Regions from separate parts of the Homo sapiens genome. Here all the other regions are linked to region 3. The links are contacts of gene promoters, found by promoter capture Hi-C in blood cells and fetal thymus (Javierre and others, 2016). All regions are on one chromosome and are shown on one strand. The core of a region is centred on a gene start or on the middle of the fragment in contact, and the rest is flanking DNA. Distances in the headings are between cores, read along the strand shown.

Region 1 (3,537 bases), core at 906-3,405, 920 kb before region 3:
TTCAAAAGAAAAAAAAAAAAAAAAAAAAAAACACATTCACATATTTATTAGTGTATGCATAAATTTCTCTAGCAGAAAACACAAGCAACTAATAATATGCAGTACCTCCAGGGAGGAAATTGGGAGGCTAAGAGACAGGGGTAGTTATCACTATGTACCTATTTACACCTTTTGAATTCGAACTCCATGAATGTATTATCTATTTAAAAGATAAAGTTGAATTTGCCAGGCGCGGTGGCTCACGCCTGTAATCCCAGCACTTTGGGAGGCCGGGGCAGGTGGATCATGAGGTCAGGATATCGAGACCATCCTGGCTAACACGGTGAAACCCCATCTCTACTAAAAGTACAAAAAAAATTAGCCAGGTGTGGTGGCGGGCGCCCGTAGTCCCAGCTACTTGGGAGGCTGAGGTGGGAGAATGGCGTGAACCTGGGAGGCGGAGCTTGTAGTGAGCCGAGATCGCGCCACTGCACTCCAGCCTGGGCGACAGAGCGAGACTCTGTCTCAAAAATAAATAAATAAATAAAAACAATAAAGTTGAATTTACACTAAAAAAATAAGTTTCTCCTCTTTCACAGGGACAAAAATTGTCTGAATATAGACAGATCTAGTAGAGAAAAGTGGTACAGTCATGTGCCACATGATGACATTTTAGTCGACAACAGATTGCATCTACGATAGTGCTCCCATAAGATTATGATGGAGCAGCCCTATACAGGTATACCGTTTTTTATCTTTTTTTTTTTTGGCAATAAAAAAATTCCCAAACTACCATTTTTTAACCTTTATATACTTTTTTCTTTTGTCACCTTTTTCCTGCAGTATCTGATACCGTACTTTTACTATACCTTTTCTATATTTAGGTATGTTTAGATACACAAATACTTACCATTGTGTTAGAATTGACTATAATATTCAGCACAGTAATATGCTAACACCATGTAGTACATGGTTTAGTCAGAGGCTACACCATATAGCCTAGGCATATAGAAGGCTACACAATCTAGGTTTGTGTAACTATACTCTATGGTGTTTGCACAATGATGAAGTCACCTAACAACACATTTCTCAGAACGTATCCCTGACATTAAGCATCACATGTCTGTATTTCAGAGAGGTCCCTAATATCTCAGTATACACACTCACATAACAGCTGAGGAAGGGAAAAGGGAACTTTTTAGAATACACGAAACTAGCTTAAAGACTCGACATAAGCCGGGTATGGTGGCACACGCCTGTAGTGTCAGCTACTTGGGAGCTAAAGCAGGAGAATCACTTGAACACGGGAGGCGGAGGTTGCAGTGAGCCGAGACCACACAACTGCACTCCAGCCTAGGCAACAGAGTGAGACTCTGTCTCAAAAAAACAAAACAACAACAACAAAAAAAAACAGACTCGACATACATTATTTCATTTAATCTTCACAACTTCACAACTATTTACAAGACATTATCATGTTTCATTTCTTTTCATTTTTCCTTTTTTAAGCAATAGGATCTCACTCTGTTGCCCAGGCTGCAGTGCAGTGGTGCAATCATAGTTCACTGTAGCCTCAAACTTCTGGCTTCAAGCAATCCTCCTGCCTTGGCCTCCCAAAGTGCTGGGATTACAAATATGAGCTACCATGCCTGGCCCTATTATGTTTCTTTTTCTTTCTTTTGAGACAGAGTCTTGCTCTGTCGCCAGGCTGGAGTGCAGTGGCGTGATCTTGGCTCACTGCAACCTCCACCGCCTGGGTTCAAGCAATTCCCCTCTCTCAGCCTCCCGAGTAGCTGGGACTACAGGCACGCACCACCATGCCCAGCTGATTTGTTTTCTTTGTATTTTAGTAGAGACGGGGTTTCATGATGTTGGCCGGGATGGTCTCCATCTCCTGACCTCATCATCCACCCACCTTGGCCTCCCAAACTGCTGGGATTACAGGCGTGAGCCACGGCATCCAGCCCCTATTATGTTTCTTTTAGAGCTGAGTAGGCTGAGGCTTAAGAAAGTGAAGTGGCTTGTTCAAAGTCATGGAGCTAATAAGCGGTGAAGACAGGATTAGAAATCAGGTTCATATGACTCCAAGCCATGCTGCTTTTGAAAGATTTCTTACCTTCCATGCCAATGAGCAGCAGGTTAGAGGTAAGCTGCCCCCAGCCACGCTTTCCCTGTTGCTTATTAATCCAGTTCCAGTTAAAACCTAAGAAGTCCATGACAATCTTCCTGCCCACAGTGTCATTGAGCGTTTGCTGCAGATACAACCTATGTTCCCCAAGAAGAAAATCCTATTAGTGCATGCACACACAGCCCCTGGCATGGCCTCTCCACATCTGAAAATCCAAGCCCAAATCCATACCAGCATCTCCCACAGAGAACAGATGTAGTCAGGCAAATTTTAGCCAACATGGATTCTCATACAACTGAATTCTTACTTATCCTTCATTGAGTTATGTTCAACACCAAATTTTTTAATTTACTGGTTTTTCTTTGTTTTGTTTAAAGAAACAAGGTCTCAATATGTTGTCCAGGTTGGTCTTAAACTCTTGGGCTCAAGCAATCCTCCTGCTTCTGCCTCCCAAAGTGCTGGGATTACAGGTGTGAGACACTGCATCTGGCCCCCAAACTTTTTCTTTAAAGAAGTGATGCTTAACCTTTTTTGGGTCACAGAATGACTCCTTTAAGAATCCAAAGAGTAGGAGGGTGAGATGAAAAATAAAATTAAAAAAAAAAAAAAGAACCTGGAGAAGAAGTCCCAGCTACTCAGGAGGCTGAGGCAGGAGAATCACTTGAACCTGGGAGGCAGAGGTTGCAGTGAGCTGAGATCGTGCCATTGCACTCCAGCCTGGGTGACAAGAGCAAGACACCATCTCAAAAAATATAAATACATAAATAAATAAATAAAAGAATCCACGGAGGTTCCCCATAAAAATGCACATACACCCAGAACTTTCACACAATTTCAGACTCCTAGAAGCCTATCCACAGACCCTAGAATGATGAATCAGTCTCACTCCAGAGACTCGCAGAGCCTGAGACATCTCCGTTGGCCCTTGATGACCACTGTGGTAAATTGTATTACTGTTCACCAAGAGCTGGTTCCCTCAGTGTGCGAGTTTTCTTTCACATCCCCTTGAAGCCAGGCTTGCTTATTTACGCTGCTCTGGCCAAGGAAATGTCCACAGAAGCGACTTGTGTTGTTTCCAACTGTAATTTAAGAACAAGTTACCACTACCACATCTCTTTCCTTCTGCCACAGCAACTCCAAAGTTCTAGATAGTAGCTGCTGGGGCAATCTGGGTGCCAGAGCAAGTAAGATGATGTAAAGAACAATATGACATTACCCATGATCAACATGTAGTAAGTGAGAAATAAGCCTCTGTTGTTTCTAGCCCGAGCTCTGGCTTGAAGCCTAGTTTATCTTAACTGATTCAGCCACCTATCCTGTTGCAGCCTTCTACAGCTAAAGTAAGGAAGATAGCTTATTAGGTAAAGGCCTCAGGCTCCTAACATACCTGAGGAAGGTCATAAGTTACTTAAGAGATATGAAAACCCAGA
Region 2 (3,522 bases), core at 231-2,730, 750 kb before region 3:
GGAAAACTCTCTGAGTTCTGGAGCACTGTTCGCGGCCGGACTGAGTGGCATGTCCGCATTTTCCCCATTCCAGGGTAGGGCAGACTGAGGTAGGAGAGCAGAGCCCCGAGGCCGACTCCCCGGGAAAAAAAAAAAAAGGAAAAAAGGCTCCCGCCGACCTGTGATTCACAGGAGCAAGAGGCTGGAAGGACCGCGCCTCCTGATTGGAGCAGACAGAATCAGACAAGCTTGGGGGCCGCTGATTGGCTCCGGCGTGGTCAGGCGCTGGTGGGCTGTTGTAGGTGTAAATAGCTCTTGAAGGCCCGGGTCTGTGACCGGCAGTAACCCCGGCGAGAGTGGGTGGAGAGGGAGGCGCTTCCTCTCCATTCATGTCAGCTGCCAGCCAGGCCCGGGCAGGCCGGCCCTTTAGCGGAGGGGACTGGGCAGGACGAGGCGATGGGTGTCTTCGGAGATCTTAAGCTGGGCTGAAAGTTAAACACTCACCCGCAGGGCTGAGCCAGAGCTGGCACCTTCCACACCGAGCCCCTTCCTATCTGTGACTGTTGAAAAGTTTAATGTGATGTTCTGGGTGAGGACCGAGGCGTTGGAGGTCGCTAGGAGGGTAGTTTTACGGAGTCGCGTTAATGGCTGTAGTGGGTGTACCTTAGTGACCACAGGGAGGTGGCAGCCTGTCCTCTCCTCCTCCTGGTCACCGTATTCTATTTGCGGAAAAGGTAAGAATGGAGGCTTGGATAGTCTTTCTACTAGAGATGCAACTTCTCCCACCCTCTACTCCAGGGGAAAGAGAAGTCTGTGGGGAACTGGCTTTGTAAAAAGTAGGAAAGAGGAAAGGGACAAATGGGTACACGTTAAGAAGAGGGTGACTCTCATACATTGCTGGAGAAAATTTAAAGTGGTGCAGCCACTGGGGAAACAGTTTGATGGTGCCACAAAAGGTTAAATATCAAATTAGCATCTGGCCCAGCAACTCCACTCCTAGATATAAACCCTAATAAATTATAAACGGGTACTCATATTTGCACTCAAATGTTCATGGCAGTGCTATTCACAATAACCAAAAGGTGGAAGCAACTCCAGTGTTCATCAATTGATAAATCAGTAAACCAACTGTGGTGTATTCATACAATGGAATATGAATAGGTAATAAACAGGAATGAAGTACTGATATATGCTCCAATGGGGATGAACATTGAAAGATTATGCCAAGAGAAGGAAGCCAGACACAGAAGGTCATATATTGTACGATTCCATGTATAGGAAATATCCTGAAGTGGTAAATCCACAGAGACAGAAAGCAGACTGATGGTCACCAGGGGCCGAGTGTGGGTGGGAAGATGGGGAATCACTGTTGAATGGGTTCAAGTTTTCTTTTGGGGTGAAAATGTTTTAGAACAAAAGGTAGTGTTTGCACAATGTTATGAATGCACTAAGTGCCACAGAACTGGTCAATTTAAAATGGTTAGTTCGGCCTGGCACGGTGGCTCACACCTGTAATCCCAGCACTTTGAGAGGGTGGGGCGGGCGGATCACCTGAGGTCAGGAGTTTGAGACTAGCCTGGCCAACGTGGTGAAACCCCATCTCTCCTAAAAAAAAAAAAAAAAAGAAAGAAAGAAAGAAAAAAAAAGATGGGCATGGTGGCAGGTGCCTGTAATCCCAGCTACTCAGGAGGCTGAAGCAGGAGAATCGTTTGAACCCGGGAGGCGAAGGTTGCAGTGATCCGAGATCATCCCATTGCACTCCAGCCTGGGCGACAAGAGCAAAACTCTGTCTCAAAATAAATAAATAAAATAAAATGGTTAGTTTAGCCGGGCACGGTGGCTCACACCTGTCATCCCAGCACTTTGGGAGGCCAAGGGAGGAGGATCACTTGAGCCCAGGAGTTTGAGACCAGCCTGGGCAATATAGTGAGACCCCTATCTCAATAAATAAAGTGGTTAGTTTTATATTGTGTGAATTGTCTCTCAATTAAAATGTATCTCTCTCTCTCTCTCTCTCTCTCTCTCTCTCGCAAACAAACTGACAGACTAAAAGGTGAGTCCTTCCTGCTGTCCATAATTCTCTAAGAAAGAAATAAGAAACAGCAATTCTGAGTCCTCTGCTGCCTTTCACTTCCACTTTCCTCTCTGTTTTTTGAAGTCTGGCATGGTCCTGGTTACTGACTGCTCCCCATGGAAAATGGCCAGGAGGGAGAGGGCCCCTTCCGCCCCTCTGAGAAGGTCCTCGCCTGGGCCCAGAACCACTGTGAGTCAGCCCGGCATACACACACTGAGCCTTTGTGAGCGCTCTGTGGCCAGGGTGTAGCTGGCTGGGCGGGACCGCGTGGGGGAAGGGCAGGTCCGGGTCCTGAAAGTGGGAAGGCTTCTGCCTCCAGCAACCCCAGTATGGAATCTCAACTCCTTGGAGCCTGCAATTAGGGCCTGTGGCATTTGTTCCAAAGTCAGTGTACAAGAATCAGCGCTTTGCCTGCAGCACGGAAAGTTAACTACAGGTCACAAAATATGACTCCTACTCCCTGTGACATTTCACACAGTTTGTAGCAGTGACAGAATTTAGAGCAAGACATGAGCTCATTCTGTCATTTCCAGTGCTGACTGTTTAGGGGCAGGGAGACATTTCTGAAAGAGGAAGATGCTTTTGAGGAGCTCACAATCTTATAGGAGGGTGAAGTGTAGTTTAGGAAAAGTAGACAGGAAATGTTGGGTACGTATCTATGGTTTGAGAGGAAAGCTTAAAACCCAGGTGTGACTGAATGTTAAGACGGGTCAGGAGGTGGAGTGAGCTGGGTTCTTCCGGAACAGTGGATGCATCTGCTGTTTGTGCAAAACTTAAGCTCCCTGCCACTGCCACCCAGGGAGGAGGGTCACATCACCAGGCTTTGCCTCTGAGTATAACTGAATATTGCCAGGCATACAGTTGGACATATGACAGATTACGACATATCTAGTTTGTCATCTGCTCCACACCCAGTAGAGCCAGTAGTTAAGACCATAGGTCTGGAACCAGATCATAGCAACATTACACATTTTCTCACAGCTTTTTCTCCAAGTGAACTCAGTTACCTCATCAGTAAAATCCAGGTAACAATAACACCTGCTTCGGATGTGGTGCGATAACACACTGCCAAGCATTCAGTACAGTGCCCAGCTCTAGTAAATATTGTTATTGTTATTATGATTGTATCCACAAGTCTGATGGACTCAGAACTTTAATTTCCCACTCAAAAGGAAGTTAGGTCTGTGTTTATGCAGTTGCCTAAACCCCTTTAACTAAATGTAGAACATGGTATCTCGATTTTTCCAAGTAACTTGGTACAGCCAAATTGTCATATTATACTCCAGTTTATAGCAGCTTGCCTTTTCTCATGTGGCTAGTCTTTGTCCCTTTGAAGTTTGAGACTAGAGACTACATCACTGCATAATTAAGAGAACATGGACTGGGTGTGGTGTCTCATGCCTGTAATCCCAGCACTTTGGGAGGCCGAAGTGGGCAGATCACTTGACGTTAGGAGCTCGAGACCACCC
Region 3 (3,424 bases), core at 274-2,773:
TGCTGTGGGGGAGAAGTTCCTTTTAAAAAAATTTTTTTGAGACAAAGTCTTGCTTTGTCACCCAGGCTGGAGTGTAGTGGCATGAACACGGCTCACTGCAGCTTCGACCTCCCTGGCGCAAGCAATCCTCCCCCAAGTAGCTGAGACTACAGGTGCACACCACCATACCCAGCTAATTTTTGAATTTTTGTACTTTTTTGTATTTATTATTTTGTAGAGACGGGGTTTTGCCATGTTGTCCAGGCTGGTCTCGAACTCCTGAGCTCAATAAATCGTCCCACCTCGGCCTTCACAGTGTTGGGGTCACAGGCATGAGCCACTGCGCCGGCCAGGGAGAGGTTAACCAGGTTAATGGACCCCTAGGGTGTCCACATGGCACCTTCAGGGACTCTGAAACGCAGAAATGATATGCAAAATTTTGAGTGCACACAGGGGATGGGAGGTGGAAGTAGGAGAAGAGAATTCGTAGTTTTATTATTTTCCAAACGGTCGCGACCTAAAGGTTAATAACAACTGCTGAAGAGAGTAGAAAAAGTTTTTAAAAAGGAAGCCCAGAGAAGAGCTAAACTTTAGAAAGAAAAAAGGAAAACATCTTTCCTATCCAAGGAAAACCTATGAACAGATGGAGAAGTCCACAGTTGCATCATCTGGGTAAAACAGAGAAGACAGAGCTGGAAACCGCGGGCAGCTTGTGCCAACACGCTCGGGGAAGGCAAATGGAAGAAGACGCCCGTGCTCCCTAGAGCAGGAGGTCCTAAGGCCGGGAATCGCTGGCCTTGCCTCTCAGGACCCGGGCTGACCCGAGGGAGGGAGAAGCCCTCATCGCCAGGCGGGGGACCCATCAGCGCGCCGGCTCAGGGACAAAATACTGATGCTTCAGACTCGGCCAGGCCGTGCGTCCGAGCTTCCCCACAGCCGCCGCACTTCCCTGCTGCCTTTGGGATGCGGCCTCCAGCCCCGCCTCGCCACCGGCCGTCATCTGTGAATCATCCCGCCCATTTCGACATCTTCCTCCCCCGCCTTCGGCTCTTGGCCTGGCGCAGAGCCCAGTGACAGCCGGGGCCCGGGGAACCTCATTCATTCAACACTTGTTGGGTTTACTCTGCGAATGTGGATGCGAGGCTCAGTGCCGGGCGCTGGGGCCTGAGGAGCACCGAGTCCGGCCAGAGGGCCCAATACTCCAGACCCGACCAGAGTCTAGCGGGCCGCCGCGGTCCCCCCTGGAGGTGAGGCGGTTCCCAGCCCGCATGTCGCAACGGCTTCCCGGACAGGCTGCGGGTCGCGCCAGCCAGGGATGACCGGCCCAGGCCGGCCCCGCCTCACGCCCGCGACGAGATCCCGCGGGAACACGGCTCTCCGGGGCCAGGGCCGCCCGCTCTCCAGCCACGCGTCTCAGAATTTGAGGAGCGCACGGGAGCGCGGGTCGTAACGGCGCCCGTCAGCAGTTTGACGTTGAAGGCCTGTCGCCGCCCCGCCCCCGACGCGATCCCGCGCACAGGGACCGCAGCTCTGCAGGCGCTAGTGAGGGGCCCGAAGTCGGCCCCTAGAGTCCCTGGGCGCGTCGCTCTTTCTGTAGCCAATCGGGGACCGACGTGGTGCGGGCCAATGGCCGCGGTCAAAGTATCAAGAGTGGTTGAGCCTATCAAAGTTCAGCCTTAAGTTTCTCCCGCCCTTCTAAAAGTCAGAGGCGGGTTGATCGCACATGTCGGCCAATCAGTGACCAATAAACAAGAAGCTTCTAAGATCAAAGGGGAAAAGGTGGGATGTAGGCGCTAGCAACGCCTCAGGGCGGAGGAATGACAGGCGACTTCGCTAATACTACCGGCTGATTTTTCGTACGTAAGGAAAGGGGTGGGTCTAACTTGGCGTCTCCACCAATGGTTGCTTGGGGGGCGTGTCCGCGGGGCCAAGCGGGAGCCGGAGGCCCCGGGCTCTCTGGGCCGCGCCTGAGGCGGACACTACGGGGCCGGGGGGCGGCGGCGGCAGTGGTGGCAGCGGCGGCGGGGGTGGGCGCCGCAGCTGGCCCGGGTGGATGGAGTTGGAGGGGCGGGGTGCTGGCGGTGTGGCGGGGGGGCCGGCGGCAGGGCCCGGGCGGAGCCCCGGGGAGTCGGCGCTGCTGGACGGGTGGCTGCAGCGGGGCGTGGGCCGGGGGGCCGGCGGCGGGGAGGCCGGGGCCTGCAGGCCCCCGGTACGACAAGATCCGGACTCCGGCCCGGACTACGAGGCGCTGCCGGCTGGAGCCACTGTCACCACGCACATGGTGGCAGGCGCCGTGGCAGGGATCCTGGAGCACTGCGTGATGTACCCCATCGACTGCGTCAAGGTGAGACCTGCACCCGGCTTCGAACCCGACCTGGGGCTGACCCGACCCCTGGGTCTTGTCCGGAGCCAGGATCCCGGCTGAGAGCCGGAGCCGACATGGGTTCCTTCCTGGCTCCTGCCACTACCACATGATTCGAACCGACACTCCATTCAAGCAAGGTCCCAGCTGGGAGTTGATCCCAGTCAGGAACCAGGACCTATTTCTAACCGTCAGTGAAATCTGAATCGGGACTCAGGATCGAAAATCTGTCAGCCAAAGCCCTGGACCCCACCTGGGACTAAACAGGAATAGGGTGGGATGGGGTATCCCGAAGCTCAGGTAAGTGCTACTAACTCGATTAAGGTGAAGCCAACTGGCGTGAACCAGACCCTGAAATGGATCTAACGGCTTGAGATGTTTTCTGGGCTAGTGCTTTTACAAACTCCTTGCTGTATCTTCCCTTACTGACGGGGCAGGAACCCGAATCTGGGATCTCTCAGCTAGATAAAGGACTTACATGTTAAATCTTAACACATGAGTGATTGGAAATCATTGTGCAGTGAGAATGCAGAATTCCAGACTGGAAGTAATGTGGGAAAGATCGTATTCAGGAATAGGTTTCAGTTTCTCTGTGAAGCAAGCATGATACCCCACCTATTTCCTGAACATGAAAATTGAGCTGGGATTAGGACTGTATGTTCAGGGAGCACATCAGCCTCCAAACAAGAGAGATGAAACTGATAGCATATTTCTTTGGCCACCTGAAGTTGGCAAAAAGGGAGAAGTTGCCTAGAAAGGAAGTGTGACGGTATTAGAAAGTAGATGTAAGTATGAAGAAAATGGAAAGAGATCAACAAGAGGACACGATTCTTGTGAAAGTAAAACTAATTGCATTCACAACCAAGCAGGATGATTTATGTGTACTGAAGTCAGGTCCTTCTGAAGAAAGCTGGGTGAAGAAAGAAACAGATTATTGTTCTTTACAGTTCTTATTCTTGTACATTAGTAAAGGTGCCAGCCATTAAAGGTGAGGACTGAATTGAGGGAGAGGTAAACTAGAGGGGACTGTTGATATGACAAAGACCGATGCCTCCTTTACATGTGAAGGGTAATAGTCAAACA

What was found. The method cuts DNA at HindIII sites, captures the fragments that hold promoters and counts their contacts. A CHiCAGO score of 5 or more calls a contact.
Region 1: a contact is called between a fragment that was not itself captured here and the fragment with the promoter of SLC25A28-DT in region 3, in 1 of 17 cell types (fetal thymus). The highest score is 7.0, in fetal thymus.
Region 2: a contact is called between a fragment that was not itself captured here and the fragment with the promoter of SLC25A28-DT in region 3, in 1 of 17 cell types (fetal thymus). The highest score is 7.8, in fetal thymus.

What each region holds. Positions count from the first base shown.
Region 1 is chr10:100,539,341-100,542,877 of GRCh38, reverse strand. It overlaps HIF1AN (hypoxia inducible factor 1 subunit alpha inhibitor), which reads right to left. Exons shown (of 8, transcript NM_017902.3): 3 at 2,096-2,244. Among named protein-coding and RNA genes, the nearest start is that of HIF1AN, 5.2 kb to the right of the region's middle. The HindIII fragment of the contact is 8,099 bases long and covers 1-3,537 here.
Region 2 is chr10:100,370,191-100,373,712 of GRCh38, reverse strand. OLMALINC (oligodendrocyte maturation-associated long intergenic non-coding RNA) reads right to left here and starts at 137. Exons shown (of 3, transcript NR_026762.1): 1 at 1-137. RefSeq lists enhancers at 15-144, 1-515, 245-574. The HindIII fragment of the contact is 2,501 bases long and covers 230-2,730 here.
Region 3 is chr10:99,618,944-99,622,367 of GRCh38, reverse strand. It overlaps SLC25A28-DT (SLC25A28 divergent transcript), which reads right to left and starts at 1,523. Exons shown (of 1, transcript NR_186534.1): 1 at 450-1,523. SLC25A28 (solute carrier family 25 member 28) reads left to right here and starts at 1,929. Exons shown (of 4, transcript NM_031212.4): 1 at 1,929-2,323. The coding sequence starts at 2,033. RefSeq lists enhancers at 373-954, 955-1,537, 2,121-2,703 and silencers at 1,189-1,348, 2,079-2,238. The HindIII fragment of the contact is 4,603 bases long and covers 1-1,737 here.